Linked DNA regions of Homo sapiens: regions 2, 3, 4, 5, 6 and 7 are each linked to region 1. Evidence: promoter capture Hi-C in 16 types of primary human blood cells and fetal thymus (Javierre and others, 2016). All regions are on one chromosome and are shown on one strand. The core of a region is centred on a gene start or on the middle of the fragment in contact, and the rest is flanking DNA. Distances in the headings are between cores, read along the strand shown.

Region 1 (3,896 bases), core at 920-3,419:
GTATTTATTCATTTGTACTTGATATCAACCCTATTATAGTCTCCATTTTACAAATGAAGAAAAAGGGGACAGAAGAAATGGAAGCACTAGTATTTTAATCTAGATAGCTTTATACTAAGGCTGTAATATTAGCTACTACACACTACTTTTATTAGTCTACAAGGCAAGAACCCACAGTAAGTCTTATTAGAGCAGGGAATATTTAAGCTATGGATGAAGACCGTCACCCAGGAGGGAAAAGAGTAGCAGGTTATGACAGAAGGAACACCAAATACAAAGAATTAGAGGCTTTTTGTAGGAGTACAAGTAATCCACTATGGCTGGACATGTAGAGTGGAAAGTGGATTCCAAGAGAGAAACAGCATCTGGAAAATTCCTGTTTGTGCGACTTGTTAAAGCATTTGAACCTTCTCTTAAGGGCACTGGATAGACATGCAGGTGAAAATAATCAAATTTCCATCTTAGGAGATATACTTAACCTCTCTCTGCCTCTGGATCCCAAAGAGTAAACTAGAGGACATTATTTGTTTTAAAAAAGTTGTGAAAATGGGCTAAGTGTGGTGGCTCATGCCTGTAATCCTAGCACTTTGGGAGGCCGGGGCGGGTGGATCACCTGAGGTCAGGAATTCAAGACTAGCCTGGCCAAGATGGCAAAACCCCGTCTCTACTAAAAATACAAAAATTAGCTGGGCGTGGTGGGGAGGGGGGTGCCTATAACCCCAGCGACTTGGGAGGCTGAGGCAGGAGACTTGCTTGAACCTTGTGTGAGGGCGGAGGTTGCAATGAGCCGAGGTCATGCCACTTCACTCCAGCCTGGGCAAAAGAGCCAAACTCTGTCTAACAACAACAACAACAACAACAACAACAAAACAGAACAAAAAAAAAAAGAAAAAAGTTGTGAAAATGTAGTGAGGGTCCCATAGTCTGAATAGTTTGAACTAGTTCCTGGCACATACTTGGTTCTTTATAAGAGATAGTTGTATATAACAGAATAAAGAATATATATTTAGTAAATGAGAACTGCAAACATGTACTGTAGTAGATATGTGGATATTTTTAGGTATTGCTCTCTTCTTTCAACCCTCAATTCTTGGAAACATCAATTCCATTATACATTTAAGCAAATAAAGATCAAGGTTTAAACACTGAAGTAATAAATTTGTTCATCTTTCAAATTCAGAAACTCCTTGAGGAATGATTACAGAGGCCCTAGTTGCTTTGTGGAGTTGATCTACCATATGCCAAAGCTTGTGTTTTCTATGTCTAGCTATCCTCAGTAAGCAAGTTGTTCTGAATTATATGACTGTGCTATTAAGAAAAGTGGAAATCCATAATATATTCTGCCTTCGTTGCATTTTTTGATTGCTCTTTCATTCTTTTAGTATCTAAAGAGTAGTTTTTCTATTAGTCGATCCTGTTAAATGTAAAAACTTAAAGGGTTTCCTCTGCCCTTTTTTTTTTTTTTTTTGGAAGTGGTGGGTATAATTCTATTAGTACAGGATCACGTGATCTGTTTCTTATAATAGTTTTTTTTTTCTTTTTTTTTTTTTTGAGACAGAGTCTCACTCTGTCGCCCAGGCTGGAGTGCAGTGGCACGATCTTGGCTCACTGCACCCTCCAGGGTTCAAGCGATTCTTATGCCTCAGCCTCCCAAGTAGCTGGGACTACAGGCGCGCGCCACCACGCCCGGCTAATTTTTATATTTTTAGTAGAGACGGGGCTTCATCATATTGGCCAAGCTGGTCTGGAACTCCTGACCTCGTGATCCGCCCGCCTCGGCCTCCCAAAGTGCTGGGAGTCTTTTTTTATTTTAGGGCTCCAATTCTTCACATATTTGCTGTTACTTTTTGTTAATAAGAAAAACCTAAATTCCACTGACATCAGAGAACTGCTTCAGCCTGGCTAAACAGCAATAAGCCGTGAAGAGGATTCTGGATGTTGTAGTCCGGGAGCTCCGAGAATTTTGTCACACTCTCCGTAACCCTCTCTCACTCGCTCGCTCCGTTTTTTTTTTTGTTTTTTTTTTTTTCAAGCGCGAAGAGGGCGGCACCTGGATGGTTTTTCCTTCTGGAAGTTCTGGGAAACGTATTCCAGAACTCTGTCCGGAAACAATTGGGCCGCAGGAGCGCGGGCCTTCTGGGAAGGGTAGTTCAGGAGCTCTGGGCAGGCAGAGCCACTTCCGCCCCGGAAAGCGAGGCCGCCACCATCTTTTGGGTCCGGGAGGTGAGTCAGCCCTGCACCCCCACGACCCCTCTTGAACCTTTTCAGCCTGTGCTTGGGAATAGGCGCTCCCCAGCCATCAGTCTTGGGATGGAGAGGTCGCGGCCGCGGCGGAGGCCGAGAGGCCGAGGGCGGGAAGTTTGCTCTCCTCCCGCACTTGGCAAGCAGCGCCGCTAGTTCTGTGGGTATAATAAACAGCGAGTTACCTATGATCCGCGCTCCTGTTTCCTCATCTTTAAAATAGCAATAAAGATAGTCGTTACTGTGTAGGGTTGTAATTAGAATTAAACAAGATAATACGGGTCAAACCTTAGAACAGTGGTGGCACCTGATACTGGGTTGGCTCCTGCTATTGATACAGTGATTCCCTCACAAGCGCCCTTTTTACTGGAAGCTCCAGTGAAGAGAGAAGAAAAGTCAGGGCTTTATGCCATGGCCTTTCTGTCGTATCCTTCAGGAGACCGAGCTCTTCCCGAACTTTTACAGATCTTTTTTTTTTTTAAGAAGGATTGAGTCATCGGGCTCCAATGCGTGGGGATGTTTACCGCCGTTTATCCGGGATAGAGACTCCATCGTGCTGACAGCATCCTTTTATTCACCGCCTCCGAATTTGCAAAGAGGAGGAAGGAGGGACTTCTTGGCTTCTCCCAGCATAGCCCCAGGTACCTGCTCTTGAACGCACTTTGTTGTTCCATTTTCTGTCCTTTCAGTTAATCAAGTTTCCGTCACTCAGTAAGTTACTACTGAAAAATGATGAAATATTTGTTGAATAAATGTGAGAGTGGGTAGGAAAACTACTTGGAAATGAGTATTACCAATAACATCTTACCACTTTGATTTTAAGGCATTCGTCTGTGGACCATAGCTATTGATGAAGTAGGTCTTGTTATTTTGTTATGAGGAAATTAGGCAGAGTTTATGTTATTAAATACTTTCCCGAAGTTATTCAACTGATAGTAAGAGGTGGATTTGGGATTGAACCCAAGCATTCCTTTTCAGACTGTGTGATCTTTTTTGTTTGTTTTTGTTTCTTTGGTTTTTGTTGTTGTTTATTTTCTATTCCTTTTTCTGAGTCTGTGGTCTTAATCTCAATGATACAGTCGTCTTCAGTTATCTTAAATAGTAATCCATATGGCTACCGGTGAGTCGTTGGAAATCAGCCTTGGGAATGTAGGTATGGATTTTACTGTGGAAGACCTCAAAAACTGCACTGATGAATTTTGAATTTTTTAGAAAAATCCTGCAACATCTCACTTACTTAATTTCATTCCATGTCAAAATATGTCATATTCTAGTTATAGAAGTAATGAATGCTCATTATAGAGATGCACTATCCAATCCAGTAGCTATAAGCCATGTGTGCCCTAGGAGCACTTGAAATGTGTCTAGTCCAAATTGAGATGTGCTGTAAGTGTTAAATACACACTGGATTTCAAAAACTTTGTACAAAAAATGTAAGATGGCTCATTGATAATTTTTTGTATTATATGTCAAAATGGTAATATTTTGGATACATTGGCTTAAATTATGTTGTTGAAATTAACTTCACCTATTTTTGTTTTTGTTTTTTTGCCTTTTTTATATGTTACTGCTAGAAAATTTAAAATTATTTATGTGTCTCAGTATATTTCTATTGGACAGTGATGTTATATTCAGAAAACTTAAATTACTTATAA
Region 2 (3,896 bases), core at 1-2,500, 9.5 Mb before region 1:
GTCTCGCTGGCTTCAAGAGTGAAGCTGCAGACCTTCAGGGTGAGTGTTGCAGCTCATAAAGGTAGTGCAGACCCAAAGAGCAAAAGAACAAACATCCCACACCTGGGAAGTAGACCCCAGCGCGGTTGCCGCTGGTTGTTCGGGTGGCCCGTTTTTATTCCCTTATTTGGCCCCGCCCACATCCTGCTGATTTGTCCATTTTACAGAGCGCTGATTGGTCTATTTTACAGAGTGCTGTTTGGTCCGTTTTTACAGAGTGCTGACTGGTGCATTTACAAACCTTTAGCTAGACACAGAGCACTGATTGGTGTATTTACAATCCTTCAGCTATACAGAAAAGTTCTCCAAGGCCCCACCTGATCCAGAAGCCCAGCTGGCTTCACCTCTCGGTTATATGCTAATTATATGCATTAGCACGCTAAGAGAAACGCTCATCAGTGCCATGGCAATTTACAAATGCCATGGTAAGGTTCAGAAGTTACCCTGTATGGTTCAAAAAGCTGGGAAGCCCTCAGCTCCGAGAAATTGAAATTGCCCACCTCTTTCCTGGAAAACTCATGAATAATCCACCCTTGTTTAGCACATCATCAAGCAATAAATACAAGTATCCCTAGTCCAGCAGCCCAAGCTGCTGCTCTAACAATGGAGTACCCATTGTTTCTTTACTTTCTTAATACACTTGCTTTGGCTTTGCACTGTGCTCTCCCATGGATTTTTTCTTGCGTGAGCTCTAAGAACTCTCTCTTGGGGTCGGATCCGGACCCCTTTCTGGTAACAGAAGCACTGCTTCACGAAGATCATGCAGGTCAGTACTTAATAAGTACAAAAAAGTCTATAGCGACACTATTTATAATTTTAAAAATGATTGAAGTCAATTAACATTTAAGTGTTAAAAAGAAAGTAAACAACCCAAATATACACAAACAGTAGACTGCTCTGGCTTGCATACAGAGAGGTCCATTGCCCTTTTGGGTGGGCCTAAGAAGCACTTCTGGGGAGAGGGGGCGTCAGGCTGTGATGGCTGCGGGAGGAGTGACTCCTCCCAGGATGAGGGTCTCCATCCTCCCAGTGCTCACTCAAGTTCAGTATTTCCAAGTCCTTCCAGGGGCGTAACGCACGTCAGAACGGCCATTAGTGTCACAGATACGTGTCCCCTTGCATTTCCAGGAAATGCCCTTGGTTGGCGAACTACAGTCGTGACAGTCGGGCCACAGGGCGTTTTGTGAGTTATCGTCTTGGGCAAATGAGTGCCAAAAAAAAAAAAAAAAAAAGACCTGAAGGTGAACAGCATAGCGGCAGGGTTTGGGATGAGAGGAGCCCCTTTGCTAGCAACGGCGAGCACTTGCGCGGTACCAGCAAGGGCTGCCCATGTCTCGGAGGGAAACGTTTGTGTGAGCGCAGGAATGACCCGGAAGACCTTGGCACGGCTGCAGTTTTCTGGGAAATGTAATTTCTTGGTCCGGGCGCCATGGCCCTTATAAGTAGAGGGTGTCCCTTGGTTTCGAGTTGTATCGTTCACCAGAGGACGACTGTGTGCCCCAGGACAATTTGCGCATGGTCCTAGCTGGCCGGCTCTAGGTCGACGGCCCCAGGCGGTTAAGCTACTTACAAAGCCGTGACCGGTTTGCCCGCGGCGCACCAGGTCCGCGCAGCCGCAGAGACCCTTGGGAAGTGTGGTCTTCGGGTGCCGGCGGTTCGCGGCTTCCGGGACATTTGTACCGCAGGGGGAGGATTCTGGGAAATGTGGTTCGCCGTGGGCGGTGCACTGGGTCAGTCCCGCGATAGCTTCAGGCCTGGCGGCGGCTTCCAAGCTAAGGAACGGTTTGGGGCAGTGTCGTTCCCGGAGGTCGGCCGCCGTTACCCGCTCACCAGCTACGCGGCGCGTCAGGTCCGCGGAGGCGCGGGCTCGGGGCGCCTGCGGGACGGTGAGGCCCTGCTGAGGACTCCGGCAAGTGTGGGTCGCGGCGACGGCGGGGCTAAGGCCCTGGGTCCGCGCGCGGTTTGACCACGGCCGGGGCCTTGGGCATTTCCTGGCCTTCCTGTTGAGCCGTGTAAACGCGGGGTGATGACGGCGCCGACCTCTTGGCACTGTTGTGAGAGCGAAGTGGGCGCGAGAGCAGACGCCAGCTACAGTTTTTTTTGGGTTATGTCGTCATGAAGCCGGCGCTTTCAGTTGTGCAACCTTGAACAAATGGGTTCAGTATCTCGGAATTTCAGTTTTGTCTTCATTTTAAAAAATAAATCTGGTTTAGAACTCGACCTCAAGCGATCCGCCCGCCTCCGCCTTCCGAAGTGCTGGGATTAAAGGCGTAAGCCACCGCACCAGCCTAACGAACATGGCGAAACGCCGTCTCTACTAAAAATACAAAAAAAAATTAGCTGGGCGTGGTGGCACGTGTCTATAATCCCAGCTATTCGAGAGGTTGAGGTAGGAGAATCGCTTCAACCCGGGAGGCAGAGGTTGCAGTGAGTCGAGGTCGCTCCATTGCACTCCAGCCTGGAGACAGAACGAGACTCCGTCTCAAAAAAAAAAAAAAAAAAATCTGGAATAATATGAATGCACACCTTGCAAAGTGGTGAAGACTGAACGAGCTGATAAAGTTGTTACCGTTGTTTTATGAGTCTTTTGTATACAGAATAATTGATTTTCCCCGCAGGTGGCACCTGGTAAATAGCCCTTGCGGAGAAACACCCTGTTCCTTCCCAGGGAGAGATTGACGCTCCGGCGAGTGATTACCAGTGTGCTTTTCCATTAAGGTGTGTGACAGGTGCCGCAAGATAAGCCCGATTTTTCATGACTGCTTTTTCCTGCCTTTCTGTGCCCTCAGGACACTGCCCATCTCTAAGATAAGAACCTGGAAAGGGGACTCTGTTGGCCATTGGAAATTGCAGAATAATGTCTCAGGTAAGTCGGTGTGTCCCCAAATCTTCCTGAAACACTTTATTAGGCCTCTGTGTGTTTGCTTTGCTTCTCCTGCCTGTTCCCACCTAATCAAGTCCATTTAAGGGACTAGATCTATGGTTCCTTTCACTATAGGAAGAATGGAGCCCACAGGAGAGCTCCAAGGTATTGTCCTCATCACCCAGTGTTCCTCTTTTCTACAGTTTTCTGCTAGAAGACTTTCTAGATTGCCAACATTTTAAAACTGTAATTCACAATGCAACTTTGGAATGTAAGGTTATTCGGTTTATGGTTGTCAAAACTGTACCATGTGGTCTCAAGTGAAGAGATGTTTGGAGTCATCCTTGATTCTTCCTTTTGACTTATAACTCATATTCAGGTCCTCTAGTTTGGATCTAAACGATACACCGTATACAGCATCTGACCATTAGTTAGCCCATCACCACCACCACCACTACCACCCCAGTCCGAGCCACCTGGATTATTGCGGTAGCCTCCTAGCTGGATTCCCAGCATCTGCCCTTAACCCTCATCAGTCTGTTCTCAGTACAGCTGTGACCATGGTCCTATTGTTATATAAATTCCTGTCATTCCGCAACCTAAAATTTTTCAGTGGTTCTAACTGAGTCACTTCTGCAATGACCTATTTGTACAATTAGGCCATTACCTCCCTGATCCCACCTTCCTTCTCTGCCTCCTCATTCCTGTGCGCTCCAGCCTCTGTCACCAGTTGCTGTGCCATCCACGTGGAATATTCTTCCCCCACATACGCACAAGCTTGCATCCTTATCTCCTTCTGTGTTTGTTCCGTGGTTACTTTCTCAGAACAGCTTCCCTGAAAGCCTATTTGCAATTGCAGTCACCTTCCCTAGCGCTTCCACTCCTCCATCACTGCTTTGTTGTTTTCCACAGTGTGTGTCACTCACTAGCTGATGTACTGTATGTTCAGTATATGCACGTGCTCATTGTCTGTTCCTGGTGGGAGGAATGCTTT
Region 3 (3,896 bases), core at 1,328-3,827, 9.3 Mb after region 1:
CCTTCACTTGGTAGTCAGAGCCATAGACACGCAGGCTCAAGCCACTTCACAAGTCAGTCAATATTGCAAACCATACATAGTAGTGTACTTAATCAATATATATAAATGTTATAGATTAAACATTTCACAATAAACAAAGTAATGTTTAACATCAAGAGAAAAGAGATAGGAGAAAAGGGTTAACAAGTCAGTCCAAGGAGAGTAACAAAACCCTTGGTCAGGGCTGGGCAGGCCCATTGGTCTTGCAAGAAGTCTTTGAGGCTTCAGCAGCAGATGCCAAGTGCTCATCACAAATGACAGCAGGACGGTTGCAGTTAAGATGGTTATTTCAAGCCACTGAAGCCTTGCTCCTTTTATGGCCACAGAGTCCTCTGGGGAGGACAGATGGTGGAAGAATGTGCTTGTTTATATCCTTATCTGGTTGGATGCAGTCTTTATTATTTATTTATTAAGCAAAACATCTTGTCCCTGTTGGCAAAGTGCCCTGTGGAATGCAAGATGGAGTCTTTTTCTAAGATGGAGTTACTTATGTCAAGGGTACTCTATACAGTAGTCTTACCCACACGTTCATAGAAACATACAATCTCATCCATGTCATAATGAAGGCCAAAAACCTCACAGGCGCCCTCCCTTACCTGAGCTCCAGGAGGCTCCCTGATGAGTCCACACAATCACAAATCCAGTCACACCCACCAATGATTCTCTCCCAACAACAGCATATATTTTTTAGGGCAAAGCATCTCACACCCCAGTGTTTGTCTAAATTGCACCATTTCGGAAGCCCCCTGCTCTTTTGCAGACCTTGGTCAAAGTGAAACATTTCACAGGGGTTCAGGCAGTGAGAAATATCCTGCCTAACCACCTGACCACAAGGCGAACAAAGACCCAATTAAAGAAACATTCTCATCATGTCCTACTGGGCAAAGGCCCAACTACAAAAACCATCCCTATCATATCTTTCTTGGCAAAGGTCCAAGGAACATCCTGATGAGATCCCACCGGAAAAAGGGCCAAACCGCCTGATCATAAGAACATCTTGTCAATATCCTGCCGGGCAGCAAGCCATACAGCCCAGGCCTCTCCCGCCCATACCAAGGTAACACTCACAGAGACATCTGAAGAGCCAGGCAGTGCTCCCAAGTCTGGGACAGCATCAGAGAACGAAACGCAAAGTCCTGCCCTTACAGAGAGAGCCTTGGCACAGACCCAGTCAGGACCAGGTCACTCCCGTGGAACCTACTCAAGGTCCCTACACACATGCCTGGAGCTCCCCAATCTACTGGGGGGTGGGGGAAAGGGCAGTGCTGAAACGTCCCCAAAATCTCACATGTAAACACCCTACCTAACACTTTCTAGAGGCATTTCCAGCTCGGGGCTGTATTTCCAAGAACGCTCTGGAGGCACAGCTCTTTTCTAAGGAGGGCCATGTTGCATGCTGGGAAATTTTTGAACTTTTCCCAAATCACAGCTTTTAAGCTTTCCGGGCTTATTATTATTATTATTATTATTTTGAGACATTGTTTCACTCTTATCGCCCAGGCTGGAGTGCAGTGGTGTGATCTCGGCTCACTGCAACCTCTGCCTCCTGGGTTCAAGCGATTCTCTTCCCTCAGCCTCCCAAGTAGCTGGGATTACAGGCACACACCACCACGCCTGGCTAATTTTTGCATTTTTAGAGCGATGGGGTTTCACCATGTTGGGCAGGAGGGTCTCGAACTCCTGATCTCAGGTGATATACCCGCCTCGGCCTCCCAAAGTGCTGAGATTACAGGCGTGATTTCTGGTCGTTTCAGACTACATTTCCTTCCCAGAAGGACGCGGGGACACGCCTTCCCTATGGACGGATCCCAAATGCAAGTTGTAAGCAATTATAACTGTAGGCCCCTAGAGCCTGAACCACTTTTCCCAGGAATTTTTTGTGGTGCGCCTTAGGAGCAAGCAAAGTTTCAGGGCAGGAGAAGGCCGACAGGGCTTCCAGCATTTGAAGATTCTGCCAGTCTGAAATACGCTTTCCCAGAAGTCTATGGGGGGTGCAGCTGCTCTAACAGTGGGAGGAGACACCGACGAAAAGCATTCTGACGGCCGCGCTTCCAGCGCTAAGGATTCCCGCGTAGTGAGCATTTCCCAGAGGTCTCTGGGGCATGGCTCCATTAGGGCCGTGTGCAGTTGCCTGCAGGGAAACACTGATGGGCGCCCTTCCAGATACGTCGATTCCCGGGTTATGAGCTACATTTCCCAGAAGCCCTCAAGGCAGGACGCCCTTAGGGTCGCGTAGAGTTGCATGCTGGGAAATCCTGACAGCCGCTTCCAACTCTGTGGATTTCCGGGTTATGGACTACATTTCCCAGAGGCCTCTGGGTCACGGCTCCATTTGCGCCGTGTAGAGTTGCATGCTGGGAAACACTGACGGGCGCCCTTCCAGCTGCGTCGAAGCTTCTCTGGTTTCGCATTACATTTCCCAGAGGGCCTTGGGGCACAGTCCAATGAGGAGCGAGCCGGGTGGCCGGCTGAGGGGCGTGCTTCATGCTCGCGGGATTTTTAAAAATGGTTTCTCCTGGATCTTATCCCAACTGCGCCTGAGACCTTGTTTCACCTCCTGATGTGCTGGGTGTGGTTAGGCCTCGAGCCGGGAGCTATTTGCCTCCCAGGAGGAAGCCAGGGCAGGGTTCCGCGGGGAATGGCGGTGAGGGAGCCACTCGGGACGCGGAGGCCCTAAAATGAAGAAGCTTCGGCCTGAGGCTTCGGGAGCGGCGAGCAGGGAAGTGGGAGTGTGTGTGAGTGTGTGTGTGTGTGTGTGTGTGTGTGTGTGAATAAGCCAGAGGCTGCCTGGTGGGGCCCCGCCGTGGCCCAGTGACTGAGATAATTGTCTTCGTCTGTGGGGTAATGCGAACAAGCCCCGTTCCCCTAAGCCGTGATGCATGCGGGGTTGACGCGGCCGGGCTCTGTCCCCATAAACTGTGACACAGGTGTGTGTAGACGTCTATGAGGGCCATAGCGCCGGGCTGTAAGGGCATCTGTAGGGGTGACGCAGCCGGGCTGTGTCTCTGCACCTCCGTTCTGTGCGAGGTCAATGCTGGTGGGGTCTGCAGAGGTGGCACGGCCAGGACGGGTCTCCGTGTCTCTGAAATGTGCCTTTGCACTTCTGTCAGGTTGACAGGGACAGGCAGTGTCCCTCTGGTGTGAGCGTCTGTGGGTGTGAAAGGGCCAGCGAGTGTGCGGCTGTGACTGGTCGGGATCGGGCCTGGGTGCATGGCCTTTTGAGTGAGCACAGGTGTGTGCGACCATGTCACCTGTCTTTCTAGTGTCTCCGTTGCTTCCTGTGCCTTGGCCTTCCAGCCATGTGGTACCTGCTAGGGAGCAGTGGTCCCAAAGTGACGTGAGAGGCTCTACGCTATTGTGAAAATGACCAAGAAGAAGGCTTCACAAGTCACGAGATGGCAGTTTTGGAGCCAGAAGTGCTCTCCGTGCACACTACCTGGACGACAAGAGGAAGTAACCTCAAGAATAGAATTCCTTTTGGGGAAGAAAGAGGTACCTGACATGGGAGGCGGGGAGGTGGTGAGAGGGGCAGCTCCATGTTTCAGAACCCCAGTTCCTAGAGTTTTCCAGCATTTCTCTGAAAAACTCACATGCCTGTGCCCTCTTATTTCTGATTGATTTTAACTGTGGTCTGGGGACAAGTGTGCCCTATTTTCTTTCTTTGTTTTTTTTTTTTTTGAGACAGAGTCTTGCTCTGTCGCCCAGGGCTGGAGTGCAGTGGTGCGATCTCGGTTCCCAGGTTCAAGCGATTCTCCTGCCTCAGCCTCCCAAGTAGCTGGGACCACAGGCGCACGCCACCATGCCCAGCTAATTTTTGTATTTTTAGTAGAGACGGGATTTCACCATGTTGGCATAGG
Region 4 (3,896 bases), core at 1,000-3,499, 8.0 Mb after region 1:
CTCTTTTTCCCCATCTGAGCTCCCTCTCTGCTCTCCTTGTTAAAATTCCCTCTTACCTGTTACACCTCCTTTGTTCCCACTCTCTAGCACCCCCAACTCCCTAGGCTTCCTCCCTGCTGTGGTTCTCCCTCTACTCTGCTTGTCACCCACTGCCCTCTCTCCCTCTCTTTCAGTCCCAGCACCACGTAGCTCTGTCGGCTGCGGCTCCAACTCTTTCACCTTCTCCCCACTGTCTGTCTGCAGTGCCTCCTCCTTTGCCGCCCCACTCTATTTTGCTGCCTTTCATCTCTCTGAAGGTCCCCCTTTTTTTCTAAATTTCTCTGTGTGCTTTCCTCCCCCTGCTTCTTTCTCCATTCGTTCTCTTTCACTCTTGCTGTCTCTTTGCAAATCCCTAAATTATCATCCATTTTGCCGTGTATTTATGGGTCTCCCTCATTCTCTTCTATTCGGTCTTTCCTTTTGCTCCGTCGCTCCCCTTCTTTTCCTCTCCTGATCCCTCTCACCCACACATTCAGTAAGAAAGGGGAGGAATAGGATGCCCACCTCCCGGAAAAGCATATTTTCCAGTGGAGTAAAATTTGGGAAGGAAGAACACTGGGTGTCACAAGACTCAGGTGACCTCCCCCAAGGGGGGGATCGAGAAAAGCAGTGGCTGTGAAGGGGAAGCCTGGGGAGCGAAAGGACCCGGCGTGAGGAGGACACAAGGTGGCAGGGGGTACGGTGTCTCAGGACAGGGAGGGTCTGCAGAATCCCAGGACCTGGGAGGAGAAGCGACTCCTTCAGGAGCCGGACGGCGGGCGCTCCCCTCCAGGGGCTGACGACGGAGAAGCTCCGGGGTCGCAACGGGCGGGAATCCACCTCCCGAGTGAGGACTCGACTTGGCGCAGGGCCGAAGCAGAGGTCAGTAAGGGTTTTAAGCAGGAACACGACCTGAGTGGGGTTGTCTACATGGTCCTAAGGCAGAAAGGCAGGGAGCAAGGAACAGCCTCAGAGAGATTTTTAAACCGAAAGGGAAGCAATTATCAGACTTACTTGGGGCGAAGGGGCTGTTGCTGGTATTTTAAGGTCCGTAGCGATCCCCAGGAAACGGGTATGGACAAGGGAAGACTGCCAAGTGCACGTTCGATTCAGGCAGACGGGGCGAAGCAAATGTTTAGTCCAGGTAGACGGAAACTGACGCGCAGCGCTGTGATCTTTTCCCCGCGCGATCTGCTTCCGGGTGTGCAGGAAGCTACACGCCCTGAGAAAAAAGACTGAGAGACCTGGGGCGGGAGAGGGGCCTGGGCGGGGTGCGACCCGCAAGGGAAAGGGCAGAAAGACTGGCCAGATTTGGGAACCCTGAAAGGGTGGGGCAAGGCTGATGCGGTAGTGGGCGGGGCCAGGTGGGCTAAGCGGGACGGGCGGTGTGGGCGGGACCTGTTTGGTGGGCGGGGCCTGTTATTCGCTCTGCCTTCCACCCAGCAAGTCTTTGTTCTCCCGATTTAGGAGTATTTGTGACTATTTCTTGTCCTGTGAAGCAGCGTTGCTTCCTGCCTATTTTAAGTTAATGTTTTAGACTTTAAGGTCAAAGCTTAAAGTTGTGGTCCACTTCTGTTGGAAACTAAGATGTTTTCTTCTTGTCAAGTTGAACTGATTTAAGTCAAAATCGATTTTTGCGAGCCTGGTGGACTCCATCGGGTCTTGCCAGTGAGGCTGAAGCCAGTTAAGGCTGAAGTTACTCAGTAGTCAGGGAACTAGGATCTCCGTGAAGATCTGATGTGCAGCCGTGGCTGGATCCAGGAACCCTGAAGACATTATGCTAAGCGAAATGTGCTAGACACAGAAAGACAAATCCTGCATGTGCTTACTTACATGTGCAATCTACAAACATCAAAATTACAGTAACAGAGTAGAAGGGTGGTTTCCAGGGCTGACGGTCTATCCTGTGCCTGTCCCACCATTGTATTTTGGAAGCAAATAGCTTCTTTGGCTTCACAGTTTCACAGCTGGACAGAAATTTTGCCTCAGGATGAACCACACTTTGAGTCTCACCCATATGTGATTCAGATAATATTTGGGTAATATTTGGGCCTTAGAGTTTGATACTGAAATGGATTAAGACTTTTGAAATGGGCCAGGAGCAGTGGCTCTGGCCTGTAATCCCAGCTCTTTGGGAGGCCAAGGTGGAAGGATTGCTTGAGCTCAAGAATTCAAGACCAACCTGGGGCAACATAGTAAGACCCTTGTCTCTACAAAAAATACAAAAATTAGCCAGGCATGGTGGCTCACGCCTATAGTCACAGCTATTTGGGAGGCTGAGGTGGGAGGATCTCTTGAGCCCAGGGGATCAAGGCTGCAATGAGTTGTCTTTGCACCACTGAACTGCTGCCAGGGCAACAGAGTGAGACTCTGTCTCAAAAAATAATAATAATAAGACTTTTGAGATGTTAGGATGGGGGTGAAGGGATCTTGCATGTGAGAAGGACATGAATTTTGGGAGTCCAGAGTACAGAATGTTATGAGCTGAATCACGTCCCTAAAAAATCATTGTTGGCCAAGCGCGGTGGCTCATGCCTATAATCCCAGCACTTTGGGAGGCCGCGGCGGGCGGATCACAAGGTCATGAGATCGAGACCATCCTGGTTAACACGGTGAAACCCTGTCTCTACTAAAAATGCAAAAAATTAGCCGGGCGTGGTGGCGGGTGCGTGTGGTCCCAGCTGCTCCGGAGGCAGAGGCAGGAGAATGGCGTGAACCCAGGAGGCGGAGCTTGCAGTGAGCCGAGATCCAGCCACTGCACTCCAGCCTGGGCGGCAAAGCGAGACTCTGTCTCAAAAAATAAATAAATAAATAAAATAAAATAAATCATTGTCTTTAAGTTCTAACACCCAGTACCTCAGAATATGACTGTATTTTGAAATAGGGCATTTAGAGGCTATTAAGTTAAACTAAGCTTGTTAGAATGGGCTCTGATGCAATCTGACTGATGTTTTGATAAGAGGAAATTTGGCTGGAAGCAGTGCTTCATGCCTGTAATCCCAGCACTTTGGGAGGTCAAGGTGGATGGATCACTTGAGCTCAGAAGTTTGAGACCAGCCTGGCCAACATGGTGAAACCCCATCTCTACTGAAAATACAAAAATTAGCCAGGTGTGGTGGCGCATGCCTTTAGTGCCAGCTACTCGGGAGGCTGAGGCAGGAGAATTGCTTGAATCTGGGAGGCAGAGCTTGCAGTGAGCCGAGATCGCGCCACTGCACTCCAGCCTGGGTGACAGGGTGAGACTCTGTCTCTTAAAAAAAAAAAAAGAAAAATTAGCCGGGTGTGGTGTCACGCACCTGTAATCTCAGCTACTTGGGAGGCTGAGGCAGGAGAATCGCTTGAACCCGGGAGGCGGAGGTTGCAGTGAGCCAAGATCGTGCCACTGCCCTCCAACCTAGGCTCAAAAAAAACAGTGTGTGGCACCTCCCCATTCTCTGTCTTCCTCCTGTCTGGGCATGTGAAGTACTTGCCTCCCCTTCACCTTCTGCCATAATTGTAAGTTTTCTGAGGCCTCTCCAGAAGCCAAGCAGATGCCAGCATCATGCTTCCTGTACAGCCTGCAGAGCCATGAGCCAATTAAACCTCTTTTCTTTATAAATTACCCAATCTCAGGTATTTCTTTATAGCAATGTGAGAACAAACTAATACACTGGCACTACAGGCATGTGCCACCACACCTGACTAATTTTCAAATTTTTTGTAGAGATAGGGTTTCACGTTGTTGTCCATGCTGGTCTTGAACTCCTGGGCTCAAGTGAGCCTCCTGCCTTGGCCGCCCAAACTGTAAAGTAGATAAAATTTAAAAAATGTATATTTTTCCAAGGCCGGGGGCTGTGGCTCACACCTGTAATCCCAGCACTTTGGGAGACTGACGGGGG
Region 5 (3,896 bases), core at 919-3,418, 7.9 Mb after region 1:
GGGTAAAAGTTAAAAAAAGGCAATATTGAGAAATTAATGACATCAGCTGATTACAGGATGACATCAAATCTTATTTCAGAAGTTAGTAATTATAGAAGAAACTGAATAAACTAAAATTTAAATCAAGCTTCCAAAATAACAATGAATTAACTGTAAAGCAACTACAAGGAAAAAAGTAAATCCATTAACAAAACAAAAAACCAACACTCTCAACTCTCCTTCAAAGACATACATTGTAGGCCTGTAGAGGTGGTTCACACATGTAATCCCAGCACCTTCAGGGGCTGAGGAGGATGGAGTGCAGCTGAGAGGCTGCAGTGAGCCGATATAATTTTACCGCACTCCAGCCTGGGCGACAGAGACCCTGTCTCAAAAAGAGAAAAAACAAACAAAAAACCAAAGATACATCTTGTAGTGACAGTCAGTCATTTCTTGCCTATTTCTCTCCTCCTCCATCCTCTACTCCCTCCCTGGAAAGAAGAGTTACAAAATGACTGAATCAAGTCACTGCCCTGTGGCTAAATAGGGATTCCAAATATCTTTTGATATAAACAAATACAAAATGCACAAGCCTTGTAGAAAAGAGTGGTAATTTTCATCCTCATGAGTACAATTTAAAGAAACAAATTTTAAATTAGAGTATAAAGTCACAAATCAATACATTAAAACCACCATCCATATCCAATCAACTCACAGCTCATCTGGGTGGGGTCCTCGCCCACTCTCTTCACTACTATGTGTTTCCCGCTCTCATTCTGCACGTCTTTTTTCCCTTTGCTGTTTTTCTCCCCTTTCTTTATTCCCTCTTTTATGTCTATTCTGCCCAATGCTTCGAAATTTATTTCACCTCTTGTTGCTCTTTCTCCCCAAACTTTCCCATTGTCCCCAGCCGCCACGTATTCCTGCCTCTTTTCCCCCATCTGAGCTCCCTGTCTGCTCTCCCTGTTAAAATCCCTCTTCCCTGTTAAATTCCCTTTTCCCTGTTACATCTCCTTTGTTCCCACTCTCTAGCACCCCCAACTTCCTAGGCTTCCTCCTTGCTGTGGTTCTCCCTCTACTCTCCTTTGTTACCCACTCCCCTCTCCTTCAGTCCCAGCACCACGTGGCTCTGTCAGCCGCGGCTCCGACTCTTACCTTTTCCGCCCCCCGCGTCTGACTGCAGTGCCTCCTCCTTTGCCGCCCCTCTCTATTTTGCTGCCCTTCAGCTCCCTGAAGCTCTCCCTTTTCCCTAATTTCTTTATGTGCTTTTCTCCCCGTGCTACTTTCTCCATGCGTCCTCTTGCACTCTTGCTCTCTTTGCCAGTACCTAAATTATCATCCATTTTGCCGTGTACTCATTCTTTTCTCCCCAGTTTTTCTTTCTGTCCCGTCGCTCCCCCTCTTTTCCTCTCCTGATCCCTCTCACCCACACATTCAGGAGGAAAGGGGAGGAATACGATGCCCACCTCCCGGAAGAGCACATTTTCCAGTGGAGTAAAAATTTGGGAAGGAACGACAGTGGGTGTCACAAGACAGACTCGGGTGACCTCCTGCAACGCGGAGTCAGGAAAAGCAGTGGCTGTGAAGGGGCAGCCTGGGGAGGGGAAGGACCCGGCGTGAGGAGGACACTAGGTGGCGCGCGGAGGACACTAGGTGGCGCGGGGGACGGTGTCTCAGGACAGGGAGGGTCTGCAGAATCCCAGGACCTGGGAGAAGAAGCGGCTCCTTCAGGAGCTGGGCAGCGGGCGCTCCCCTCCAGGCGTCGACAAGGGCGAAGCTCGGGGGTCTCGACTGGTGGGAATCCACCTCGCGAGGGAGGACTTGACTTCGCCCGGGGCCGAAGCAGGGGTCAATGAGAGTTTTAAGCAGGAACACGACCTGAATGGGGTTATCGACATGGTTATCTACATGGCAGAAAGGCAGGGGGCAAGGAACAGCCTGAGAGAGATTTTAAACCGACAGGGAAGCAATTCTCGGACTTACGTGGGGAGAAGTGCCTGTTGCAGGGGCGAAGGGGCTATGGGTATTTTAAGGTCCGTAGCGATCCCCAGATCACTGGTACGGAGAAGTGAGGACTGCAAAGTGCACGTTTAATCCAGGCAGACGGAGCGAAGTAATGTTTAATCCACGTAGACTGAAACACACACACAGCGATAAGGCCTTTCCCTGGCGCAATCTGCTTCCGGGAGTGACGGAAACTGCTAGCGGAGAGAAAAAACTGGGAGGCCAGGGGGCGGGGCCTGGGCGAGCCGCGACCAGCAAGGGGCGGGTCGGAAAGAGGGGCCTGACTCGGGGAGGGACCCTGAGAGGGTGGAGCCGGGCCGGAGCGGCAGTGGGCGTGGCTAGGTGGGGCGGGACGGAGCCGCGGCGGAGGATGGGGCGGGGTTTCATGGGGTAAGCGGGGCCGAAATAGAGCCTGTTATTTACTCTGGTTCACAGGCAGCATGTCTTTGGTTTTCTGACTACTTCTTGTCCTGTGAAGCAGCGTTGCTGCCTGCCTATTTTAAGTTAATGTTTCAAAATTTAAGGTTAAAGCTTAAAGTTGTGGTCCACTTATATTAGAAACTAAGATGATTTCTTAACAAGTTGAACTAAGTCAAAACCGATTTTTACAAGCTTGGTGGACTCCATCCACTCTTGCCGATGATGCTGAAGCTACTCAATAGTCAGGGAACTAGGATCTCGCTGGGGATTTGATGTGGAGCCGTGGCTGGATCCAGGAACCCGGAAGACATTATGCCAAGCGAAATATGCTAGACACAGAAAGACAAATACTGCCTGTGCTTTTACACGTGCAAAGTACAAACGTCAAATTTACAGTAACAGATTAGAAGGGTGGTTACCAGGGCTGGGGGATGTATCCTATGCCTTTATCACCATTATATTTTGGAAGCAGATAACTTCTCTGGCCTCACAGATTCACAGCTGGGCAGAAATTTTGCCTCAGGATGAATCACACCTTGATTCTCACCCATGTGTGGTTCAGATAATATTTAGGGGGTATTCTGCCCTAAGAGCTGATACAGGAATGGATTAAGACTTTTGAGAGTTGATACTGAAATGGATTAAGTCTTTTGAGATGGGCCAGCAGTTTTGGAGGCCCAGGTGGGCAGGTCACTTGAGCTCAAGAGTTCAAAACCAGCCTGGACAGCATCGTGAGACCCCCATCTCTACAAGAAATACAAAAAGTAGCCAGGCTTGGTAATGCACTCTTGTAGTCCCAGCTACTTGGGAAGCTGAGGTGTCAGAATTGCTTGAGGCCAGGGATTTGAGATCATCCTGGGCAACATAGCCAGACCTCTCTACAAAAAATTAAATTATCTGGACATGGTGGCCTGCACGTGTGGGCCCAGCAACTCGGAAGGGTAAGGAAGGAGGATCATTTGAGCCCAGGAGGTGAAGGCTGCAGTGAGCCATGAGAAGAGGAGATTTGGTTGGGTGCAGTGGCTAACGCCTATAATCCCCACACTTTGGGAGGCCAAGGTAGCAGGGAGCTAACTTGCATTCTTCTGTTAGCTGAGGCGTTTGATGATAAATGAAAGCAGAAAGTTTGTGACTTATTTACGTTCTTTCCACAGAAAGGCCATATGTCCTTGGCCATAAAGAAAAAGAGACCTACAGCTTATCTGCTTCCTCTATTTTTTTTTATATGTTCTGGACCATGAAGAAAGATTTATAGCTTATTTGCTTTATCTCTTTGCTTTCTCCTGGTCCTTTCAGGCTGACTCCTTTTCCCCAATTAGGGCTCCACAGACTCTACCCTCAAAGGGCATTTTTTTCTCACCCTCCTATAAAATCCCTCCCACAAATAAACCAGGATCCTATTTCCCAGCATGAAAAGTTTGTTGGAAAAAAAACTGAGGCTGCATGGGACCTTCTTTCTCTTCTTCAAAACTACTTCACCTCTTCTCTCTTTT
Region 6 (3,896 bases), core at 753-3,252, 7.8 Mb after region 1:
GGCCAGAACCCATTATTACCACAAAGGCGCGGCATCCCTTCTTAGCGGTTATGATGGCTGTGACGTCTCAGCTCAATGGAAAATTAAAGTCACCTCTGGGCACCTCAGTCACTATTGTAAATGCGAAGCGTTTTAGAAGCCGTATAAAAACTGAAGCAAGAGAGACTAGAACAAAAAATAAGCGAGCGGTGCGTTGCAGGTAACGGAGCCAGAGCCCTTAGGGGAGAGCATCATGGGGGCGGCCATCTTAGGGGACGTTCGGTGTCCGTACGGCAGAACATATTCTCTCTGAGAAGCTTGCGGTGGAACTGGCCCATGGAAATGTCTTTAGAAGAGAAGAACCACCTGGCTCTGTTCTTGACTCTGGAAAAGAATCCTTTTCTAGAATTATTTAGGTTGTTGCCAGATTAATTTCCTTTAGAGAGTTTCCTTGCCCCCACGACTTCCTATCTTTAAAGCCAACAATAGTATGTGAAATCCCTTTCATATTTGAAACCACTGACTATTGCTGCTGCATCTCTCCGGTTTCTCCTATTCTTAAGTGCTTGGGCAATCCAGAATAATCTCCCAATGCTAAAGTCAGCTGATTAATAAACTTAATTACAATGCAGAGTCCTTTTTGCCATGTAACATAACCATGGGAATTACTCTGGGGTTGTAGATCTGGCTATGATATGATGACACTAATGAATATTTTGCAATAAAAACATACTATTTTAAAATATATATATACATATATCTTTATATATGTATATTTCTACAGAATTATTACAAGTTATGTCTTATGATGGTTTCTTATAAGAAGCAAGGAGGAAAAGGTCCTTAACATTTTCAATTGTGTTTTTTTTAATAATAAAGCATGCATTCTAATTTACAAAAACCACAATAAAGGTACTTTCATCATGTCAGTCTTGAGGCTGAACAACACTTAACATTCTTTTTCCTTTTACCTGTCTGCCTTCTCCCTTCCCCTACACTCTCTATACCCCACCCTCCAGGCTCTCTGTTCCATCATCTTATGCGTATGGCCCCTTTCCCCTGTGCCCTCTTATTACTTCCATCTATCACGCAGACACACACTGTCACTCCCCTAAACACTCTAGTGTTAAACAATTGCTGCTGATTGTTTTTTGACAAGTGCCCTATGGGTAGGAGTGTTCACATAAATAAAGTCAAGCCAAATAGAGAAATACTATGAGAATAGACCTATTCAGCAGGCTGCAAAGCAGGCTTAGTAGTGAACATTCTGTGGGGATGGAGGCTTTTGGGTGTTTCAGAGCCATTTCTGCCATTTTCAGAGCCATTTCTACCTCCTCAAGTGCAGATATTCTGCTAGGGTGCAGATATTCACTGTTACTGTTGTTAAAAGGTGGTTGCTTTTCAAGGCTACCTTGAAGCTGAGGATATGGGGATAGGATTAGGGCAAGCTAAATACCACAAGCTCACTGTGGCCGGCATTGTAGACTTAATTGGCCATTCTAGAAGAGGAACTAACTGGCTTCTAGCCAGGGCCTAAAAACTAGATCTAGATAGCCAAAAAGATTACATTAAACTTCCTCTAGTGTCCCATCTATCAGATTCCAATCCTGAAGGACCAAGTCAATCTCTCTTCTATTTCATCTCCTTTCTCCCATCTTATAAAAGATCTTTGGAAAACTCTGTTTATTTCATATATAACAGAGCTGATATTTGTATGTTTTGTGGAGATGATGTTTCATCATGTTGCCCAGGCTGGTCTTGAACTTTTGGGCTCAAGCAATCCTCCCACCTCGACCTTCCAAAGTGCCAGGATTACAGGCATAAGCCACCATGCCTGTCTTAACATTTAATCTTTTCAAATTACTTCACTATGTATTCTTTTTTGTTGTTGTTCTTTTTTTCTGTTTACTTCACTGTGTATTCTAAGCACAAATAAGAAATTCTTATTTCCTAATTATTGTTTATTTCCATATATATAATATATTTTTTTAATAAGTTTTTTTTTAGACTGCATCTCACTCTGTCACCCAGGTTGGTGCGCAGTGGTGCAATCTCAGCTCACTGCAAACTCTGTCTCCCGGGTTCAAGCAATTCTTCTGCCTCAGCCTCCCAAATAGCTGGGATTACAGGTGTACCACCACACCCAGCTAATTTTTGTATTTTTAGTACAGACATGGTTTCACCATGTTGTTCATGCTGGTCTCAAACTTCTGAACTCATGTGATCCACCTGCCTTGGCCTCCGAAAGTGCTGGGATTACAGGAATGAGCTCCAACACCTGGCCCATTTCCTAATATTTGTATACACTTGCTATATTTTTATTTTTACCACACATAAAAATCAAGGCAAATGCAAGCCATGGATCTTATACATACAAAGGCATGTAGAACTATAATCATATAGTGAATATTCATGCATACTGAGGCAGGTTTTTAGATGCTCAGAGTCTGAAATTGCACTGCATGGTATTTCCATAAAATGTCCTGGGGCATACTCGGACAGAATAGCTCAAGTGCAAATTATAAGCATATATTCCCCAAATTGTATCCTGTTTGAATTCATCAAAGTTGAAATGAAGGAAAAAATAATAAGGGCAGCTGTGGGGAAAAGAAAGAGAGATCAGACTGTTAACTTGTCTATGTAGAAAGAAGTAGACAAAAGAGACTCCATTTTGTTCTATACTAAGAGAAATTCTTCTGCCTTGAGATGCTGTTAATCTGTAACCCTAGCTCCAACCCAGTGCTTGCAGAGACATGTGTTGTGTTGACAGAAGGTTTAATGGTTTTAGGGCTGCGCAGGATGTGCTTTGTTTAAAAAGTGCTTGAAGGCAGTATGCTTGGTAAAAGTCATCACCATTCTCCAATCTCAAGTACCCAGAGACACAATACACTGCACAAGCCCACAGGGACCTCTGCCTAGGAAAGCCAGGTATTGCCCCAGGTTTCTCCCCATGTGATAGCCTGAGATATGGCCTCATGGGAAGGGAAAGACCTGACTGTCCCCCAGCCCAACACCCATAAAGGGTCTGTGCTGAGGAGGATCAGTAAAAGAGGAAAGCCTCTTTGCAGTTGAGATAAGAGGAAGGCATCTGTCTCCTGCTCATCCCTGGGAATAGAATGTCTCGGTGTAAAACCTGACTGTATGTTCTGTTTACTGAGATAGGAGAAAACCACCTTAGGGCTGCAGGTGAGACATGCTGGCAGCAATACTGCTCTTTATTGCACCGAAATGTTTGTGCTCGTGCACATCAAGGCACAGCAGCTTTCCTTAAACTTATTTATGACACAGAGACCTTTGTTCACATGTTCTCCTGCTGACCCTCTCCCCACTATTACCCTATTGTCCTGCCACATCCCCCTCTCCGAGATGGTAGAGATAATGATCAATAAATACTGAGGGAACTCAGAGACCAGGGCCAGCTGCGCAGGTCCTCCATATGCAGAGCGCCAGTCCCTGGGGCCCCCTTTTCTTTCTCTATACTTTGTCTCTGTCTCTTATTTCTTTTCCTGGTCTCTCGTCCCACCTGACGAGAAACACCCACAGGCTGTGGAGGGGGTGGCCCCCTTCAGGCAGCCAGAGAGAAAGGTCGGCTTACCCACAAAGGGAAGCCCATGTGACTAACAGCAGATCTCTCAGCAGAAACCCTACAAGCCAGAAGAGAGTGGGGGCCAATATTCAACATTCTTAAAGAAAAGAACTTTCATCCTAGAATTTCATATCCAGCCAAACTAAGCTTCCTATATGAAGGAAAAATAAAATTCTTTACAGACAAGCAAATGCTGAGAGATTTTGTCACCACCAGGCCTGCCTTACAAGAGCTCCTGAAGGAAGCACTAAACATGGAAAGGAACGACCGGTACCAGCCACCACAAAAACATGCCAAATTATAAAGACCATAGATGCTAGGAAGAAACCAC
Region 7 (3,896 bases), core at 504-3,003, 7.8 Mb after region 1:
TGTAAAGGGTCTCTGCTGAGGAGGATCAGTAAAAGAGGAAGGCCTCTTTGCGGTTGAGATAAGAGAAAGGCATCTGTCTCCTCCTCGTCCCTGGGAATGGAATGTCTCCGTGTAAAACCCCATTGTCTGTTCTATTTACTGAGATAGGAGAAAACCGCCTTAGGGCTGGAGGTGAGACATGCTGGTGGCAATACTGCTCTTTATTGTACCGAAATGTTTGTGTGCGTGCACATCAAGGCACAGCACGTTTCCTTAAACTTATTTATGACACAGAGACCTTTGTTCACATGTTTTCCTGCTGACCCTCTCCCCACTATTACCTTATTGTCCTGCCACATCCCCCTCTCCGAGGTGGTAGAGATAGTGATCAATAAATACTGAGGGAACTCAGAGACCAGTGCCAGCGTGGGTCCTCCGTATGCTGAGTGCTGGTCTCCTGGGCCCACTTTTCTTTCTCTATACTTTGTCTCTTATTTCTTTTCTCAGTCTCTCATCCCACCTGACAAGAAACACCCACAGGTTGTGGAGGGGTGGCCCCCTTCAAGGTGAATTCTCAGACAGATCAATTTTAGGAAAGAGAACACATGGAAGGCTCCAAGAATGTCTTTAAAAACCACGTGTGCCCATGTACTGGTTCGAAAGTCTCTGTAAGCTCTTTGGGTATACATACCTCGTGTCAAGACCAATGTACTAAGCAAATCACAAGAACTGTCTCATTTCACATTATGCGCTAAAGGAGTAACTTTACCCAAGAGAGCTTTGTCCTTTGCCCACAGTTCCTATGAGGCAAACTCTAAGCCTTTGGAATACGCTGCTTGATAAAACTGTCTTTGGTTATCAGGGCAATTTAAGCCATGCCAAATTGTCTATCCTAATAATGTGATTTACTGTGGGAGACCTTGGACCACGTGGTATTAGTTTGATATCTGGAGGAGCTGGAGATTGAAGTCAGCCTCATAGGCAGTCAATTGTGTGTGTGTGTGTTAACTGATATCCAATAAAACTCTGGACACCAAGGCCTAGGTGAGTGGCAACAATGGTTACAATGGCTGGCAATAATAATATAAGGGTGTATATATAAGAATATGATAATTTAAAAACGTATGAAGCAAAACAGAATGAGAGAGGATTAGACAATTCAACAATAATAATTGAAGACTACATTACCCTACTTGCAATAATAAAGAAAACAAATAGAAACTCAGCAAGGATACCGAAAACTTGAACAACATTATCAACCAACTAGACTTAACGAACATTTAACACTGCACTCAACAGCAGTAAAATAAACATTTTTTTCAAGAGCACATGTTATATTCTTCAGGAAAGATAATATCCCATGTGATAGCCTGAGATAGGGCCTCATGGGAAGGGAAAGACCTGACCGTCCCCCAGCCCAACACCCGTAAAGGGTGACTCACAAGGGCCCCAGACCCAGACAGAGTCGGACTCGTCGCTGATTTCCTCAGACTCTTCATCCCTACAGCCAAAGGACCCGTCATTAACGCCCCGCTTCCTCAGCGACTGCGTTCAAATACAGCCCCAATCAGGACGCTCCACGCACCATCGGTACACAGACCCACAGGCCGCGAGTCCATGCCCAGAACTCGACTCACCCGAGCCCGAACCTCTCCAGACACCACTGGCAGCGACAAAACGCCGCATCCACGTCCGAAAACGCTTCCTATTCAGACGCGCTCCTGCGCGGACTCCGGGAAGCTGAGCGGTAAAGACCGTGAAGCGAGGCGAGGACCACGGAGCCTGCCCGGGATCGCGAGTTCAGACTGCGGGCGCCGCTCTATGAGGTCACAGGGCTGCGCCCATCGCAGCGTTTCTGACAGGAGCGGCCATAATGGCTGTGGGAATCACTCTTAGTCACCTCAGTGCCTTTCTCTCTTCGTTGCAAGGGACACTCAAGAGTCGGGTGCCCAGCCAAGGCCAACACGGCGCAGTGGCATTCTATTCAGCCTGCTGTGGAAAAAAGATGGCGGCGCCCTTTGTGCCCATTATAGCTGAGAGTGGAGCCTTAGCTGGAGCACCATGGGCACGGCCATCTTAGAGGAAGGCAGCAGCCGTACGGCAGAGAAGATGCTCATATCCAGGACAATTTGGAAAAATAAACAAGGTTTGAAGAAGTCACGGTGCTGGCCAGGAAGCGGTCACAGAGTTGCCAAAACCAGTGGTCACTGAAAGTGTTAGATTTGGGGATAGGGCGGGGGTTCTGGGCTGGGTAAGGCTTTTGTGGGTTAGATTAGACTCTGACTGAATGGACGAAGCCGAGAACAGGAGTGATGCTCCATTAAATGCTAATACCCACATGGGGCTTGCTATTAAAACCACTGCCAGTGGGGAAGGGGATGAGGAGGTGAAGGTGCAACTGTGTTAATATCTACATGTTTCCTTCCAGAAGTAAAGGAAGATGACAGTGGGGCACTTAAGAATATGAAATTATTAGAATGCGATCATCCTACTTTGCAATGTTTCCAGATTTTTTAAAAAGTCACACTTAAAAAATATTAGTTCTATTTTTGCAGATGTTGGCGTTGTAACTGTAGAAGATTTAAGTAAATATTGTATTTTTGGAAGGCAACCTAGAGCCAATTTAATTTTTTCGTTTTCTTTGACACAGCAATTCTAAAAGCTATCTAGGCAAATCTGTCTTAATATTAACCACAACTTTTGTAATTTACAAAAAAAGGGAATTACAATGAGAGATGAATACTTTGGTAAATTATGGAACATCTGCTGAACTGTAAGAGTATATATCAATTTAAAAGAATATGCTACAATTGTTTTATAAAAAAGAAAACTTTGTCAGAGGACAAAAAAATGATCTGCAGGATAGTATATATTTTATGGTCTTGTTATTGGAAGAAATCATAAACATCTTTTGGAAAATTGTGATTGGTTAAACAAGACATTTAGTTTGAATTAATATTGTTTGTGTTCATAGGTAGAGAATGCCATGTTTTTACTTGAAAAATATTCCCAATTTATACTTAATTTTACTATCTTTGTACCATAATCATGAATATATTATAAAACATGTTGATCTTAGAAAATAGGTATGATGATGTATAATAAGTTCATGGCATGATAAATGCAAAATAGGCTGTTTTCTTTCAGAAAATAAATATGCTCATGCATTTGAAAAATTCTGGAGAATATACTAACAATATTTGACTGTTCCGTACAATTATGGTGACTTAAAATTTCTTCATTTTACTTACGTTTTGTAATTTCTAGAGAATAAGAATTTCATGTTCGTATTTCTTGAGTGTTATAACATATTCCATCCAGGATTAAATTTCAGCCCCGTTCATCTGGAATGTTAATCTCTGGTAGGTAAGTTTAGCACCTGGTCCACAGGACTATGAGCAGCCCATGATGGGACCTTCACTGATCATTTCCAGGAGTGGGCTGATAAAACTTTGCCGTGGCAGGCTGTGCTGATTCACGGGACAAGGAAGGTGATTCAAGGGCCTGGTTGGTGGAGCACTTTTGTCTGATTCATTGCTGGAGACAATCTGCCCTGAATCCATCCTGTTACAGTGTGGGAATGGTGATGGGAGCACCAATCCACAATTTAGGGCAGAGATGTTCAAATTTAAGAAGGCTCTTTTTATAAATGCAGAGTCCGAACCCCATCCCCAGAAATTCTAGCTTGGAATGTCTGGGGAGTGACTCAAGAATTTGCCTTCTTTTACAAGCTTCTCAGAGAATGCTGAGGCAGGAACCCCAAAGAAAACACTTAGAAAGTTCTATAGTGTTCTGGACTTAAAAATATGATGGCTGTGTCCCCACAGTATATTTAGGCTTTGGTTCAAATTATATCTGCACAGAAAAGCCTATCCTGAAAACTCTTCCTAAAATAACTCAGGTTACAATCTATGAAC

What was found. Contacts are between HindIII fragments. The CHiCAGO score rates a contact against its expected background, and 5 or more counts as called.
Region 2: the fragment with the promoter of SCGB2B2 here is called in contact with the fragment with the promoter of ZNF227 in region 1 in 1 of 17 cell types (total CD4 T cells); the score reaches 7.4 in total CD4 T cells.
Region 3: a contact is called between a fragment that was not itself captured here and the fragment with the promoter of ZNF227 in region 1, in 9 of 17 cell types (non-activated CD4 T cells, total B cells, activated CD4 T cells and 6 more). The highest score is 28.7, in non-activated CD4 T cells.
Region 4: a contact is called between a fragment that was not itself captured here and the fragment with the promoter of ZNF227 in region 1, in 4 of 17 cell types (total CD4 T cells, naive CD4 T cells, non-activated CD4 T cells and 1 more). The highest score is 8.7, in total CD4 T cells.
Region 5: the fragment with the promoter of ZNF616 here is called in contact with the fragment with the promoter of ZNF227 in region 1 in 1 of 17 cell types (total B cells); the score reaches 6.8 in total B cells.
Region 6: a contact is called between a fragment that was not itself captured here and the fragment with the promoter of ZNF227 in region 1, in 1 of 17 cell types (total CD4 T cells). The highest score is 9.4, in total CD4 T cells.
Region 7: a contact is called between the fragment with the promoter of ZNF614 here and the fragment with the promoter of ZNF227 in region 1, in 1 of 17 cell types (naive CD8 T cells). The highest score is 5.1, in naive CD8 T cells.

Annotation. Positions count from the first base shown.
Region 1 is chr19:44,210,363-44,214,258 of GRCh38, forward strand. ZNF227 (zinc finger protein 227) reads left to right here and starts at 2,170. Exons shown (of 6, transcript NM_182490.3): 1 at 2,170-2,223; 2 at 2,728-2,882. The HindIII fragment of the contact is 5,683 bases long and covers 1,246-3,896 here.
Region 2 is chr19:34,675,909-34,679,804 of GRCh38, forward strand. It overlaps SCGB2B2 (secretoglobin family 2B member 2), which reads right to left and starts at 1,251. Exons shown (of 4, transcript NM_001025591.4): 1 at 1-1,251. It overlaps ZNF302 (zinc finger protein 302), which reads left to right and starts at 1,770. Exons shown (of 5, transcript NM_001289187.2): 1 at 1,770-2,195; 2 at 2,829-2,905. The coding sequence starts at 2,897. It also overlaps the pseudogene ZNF807P and the pseudogene SCGB1B2P. RefSeq lists enhancers at 742-1,639, 1,299-1,398, 1,449-1,508, 1,640-2,536, 3,394-3,895 and a silencer at 1,959-2,018. The HindIII fragment of the contact is 5,389 bases long and covers 1-3,677 here.
Region 3 is chr19:53,518,554-53,522,449 of GRCh38, forward strand. It overlaps a transcript of ZNF331 not described here. Among named protein-coding and RNA genes, the nearest start is that of ZNF331, 18 kb to the right of the region's middle. RefSeq lists enhancers at 1,171-1,945, 1,946-2,719, 2,210-2,409, 2,720-3,493. The HindIII fragment of the contact is 293 bases long and covers 2,432-2,724 here.
Region 4 is chr19:52,170,304-52,174,199 of GRCh38, forward strand. ZNF836 (zinc finger protein 836) reads right to left here and starts at 1,318. Exons shown (of 5, transcript NM_001102657.3): 1 at 1,033-1,318. RefSeq lists an enhancer at 717-856 and a silencer at 1,437-1,486. The HindIII fragment of the contact is 1,362 bases long and covers 1,569-2,930 here.
Region 5 is chr19:52,137,770-52,141,665 of GRCh38, forward strand. It overlaps ZNF616 (zinc finger protein 616), which reads right to left and starts at 2,169. Exons shown (of 4, transcript NM_178523.5): 1 at 1,963-2,169. RefSeq lists an enhancer at 1,765-2,004 and silencers at 2,125-2,404, 2,415-2,464. The HindIII fragment of the contact is 2,387 bases long and covers 126-2,512 here.
Region 6 is chr19:52,049,145-52,053,040 of GRCh38, forward strand. No RefSeq gene overlaps it. Among named protein-coding and RNA genes, the nearest start is that of ZNF432, 2.3 kb to the left of the region's middle. RefSeq lists an enhancer at 1-66. The HindIII fragment of the contact is 3,416 bases long and covers 295-3,710 here.
Region 7 is chr19:52,026,626-52,030,521 of GRCh38, forward strand. It overlaps ZNF614 (zinc finger protein 614), which reads right to left and starts at 1,754. Exons shown (of 5, transcript NM_025040.4): 1 at 1,617-1,754. LOC112268244 (a long non-coding RNA gene) reads left to right here. Exons shown (of 2, transcript XR_002958414.2): 2 at 487-3,155. RefSeq lists enhancers at 241-1,011, 1,482-2,241. The HindIII fragment of the contact is 7,426 bases long and covers 1-3,708 here.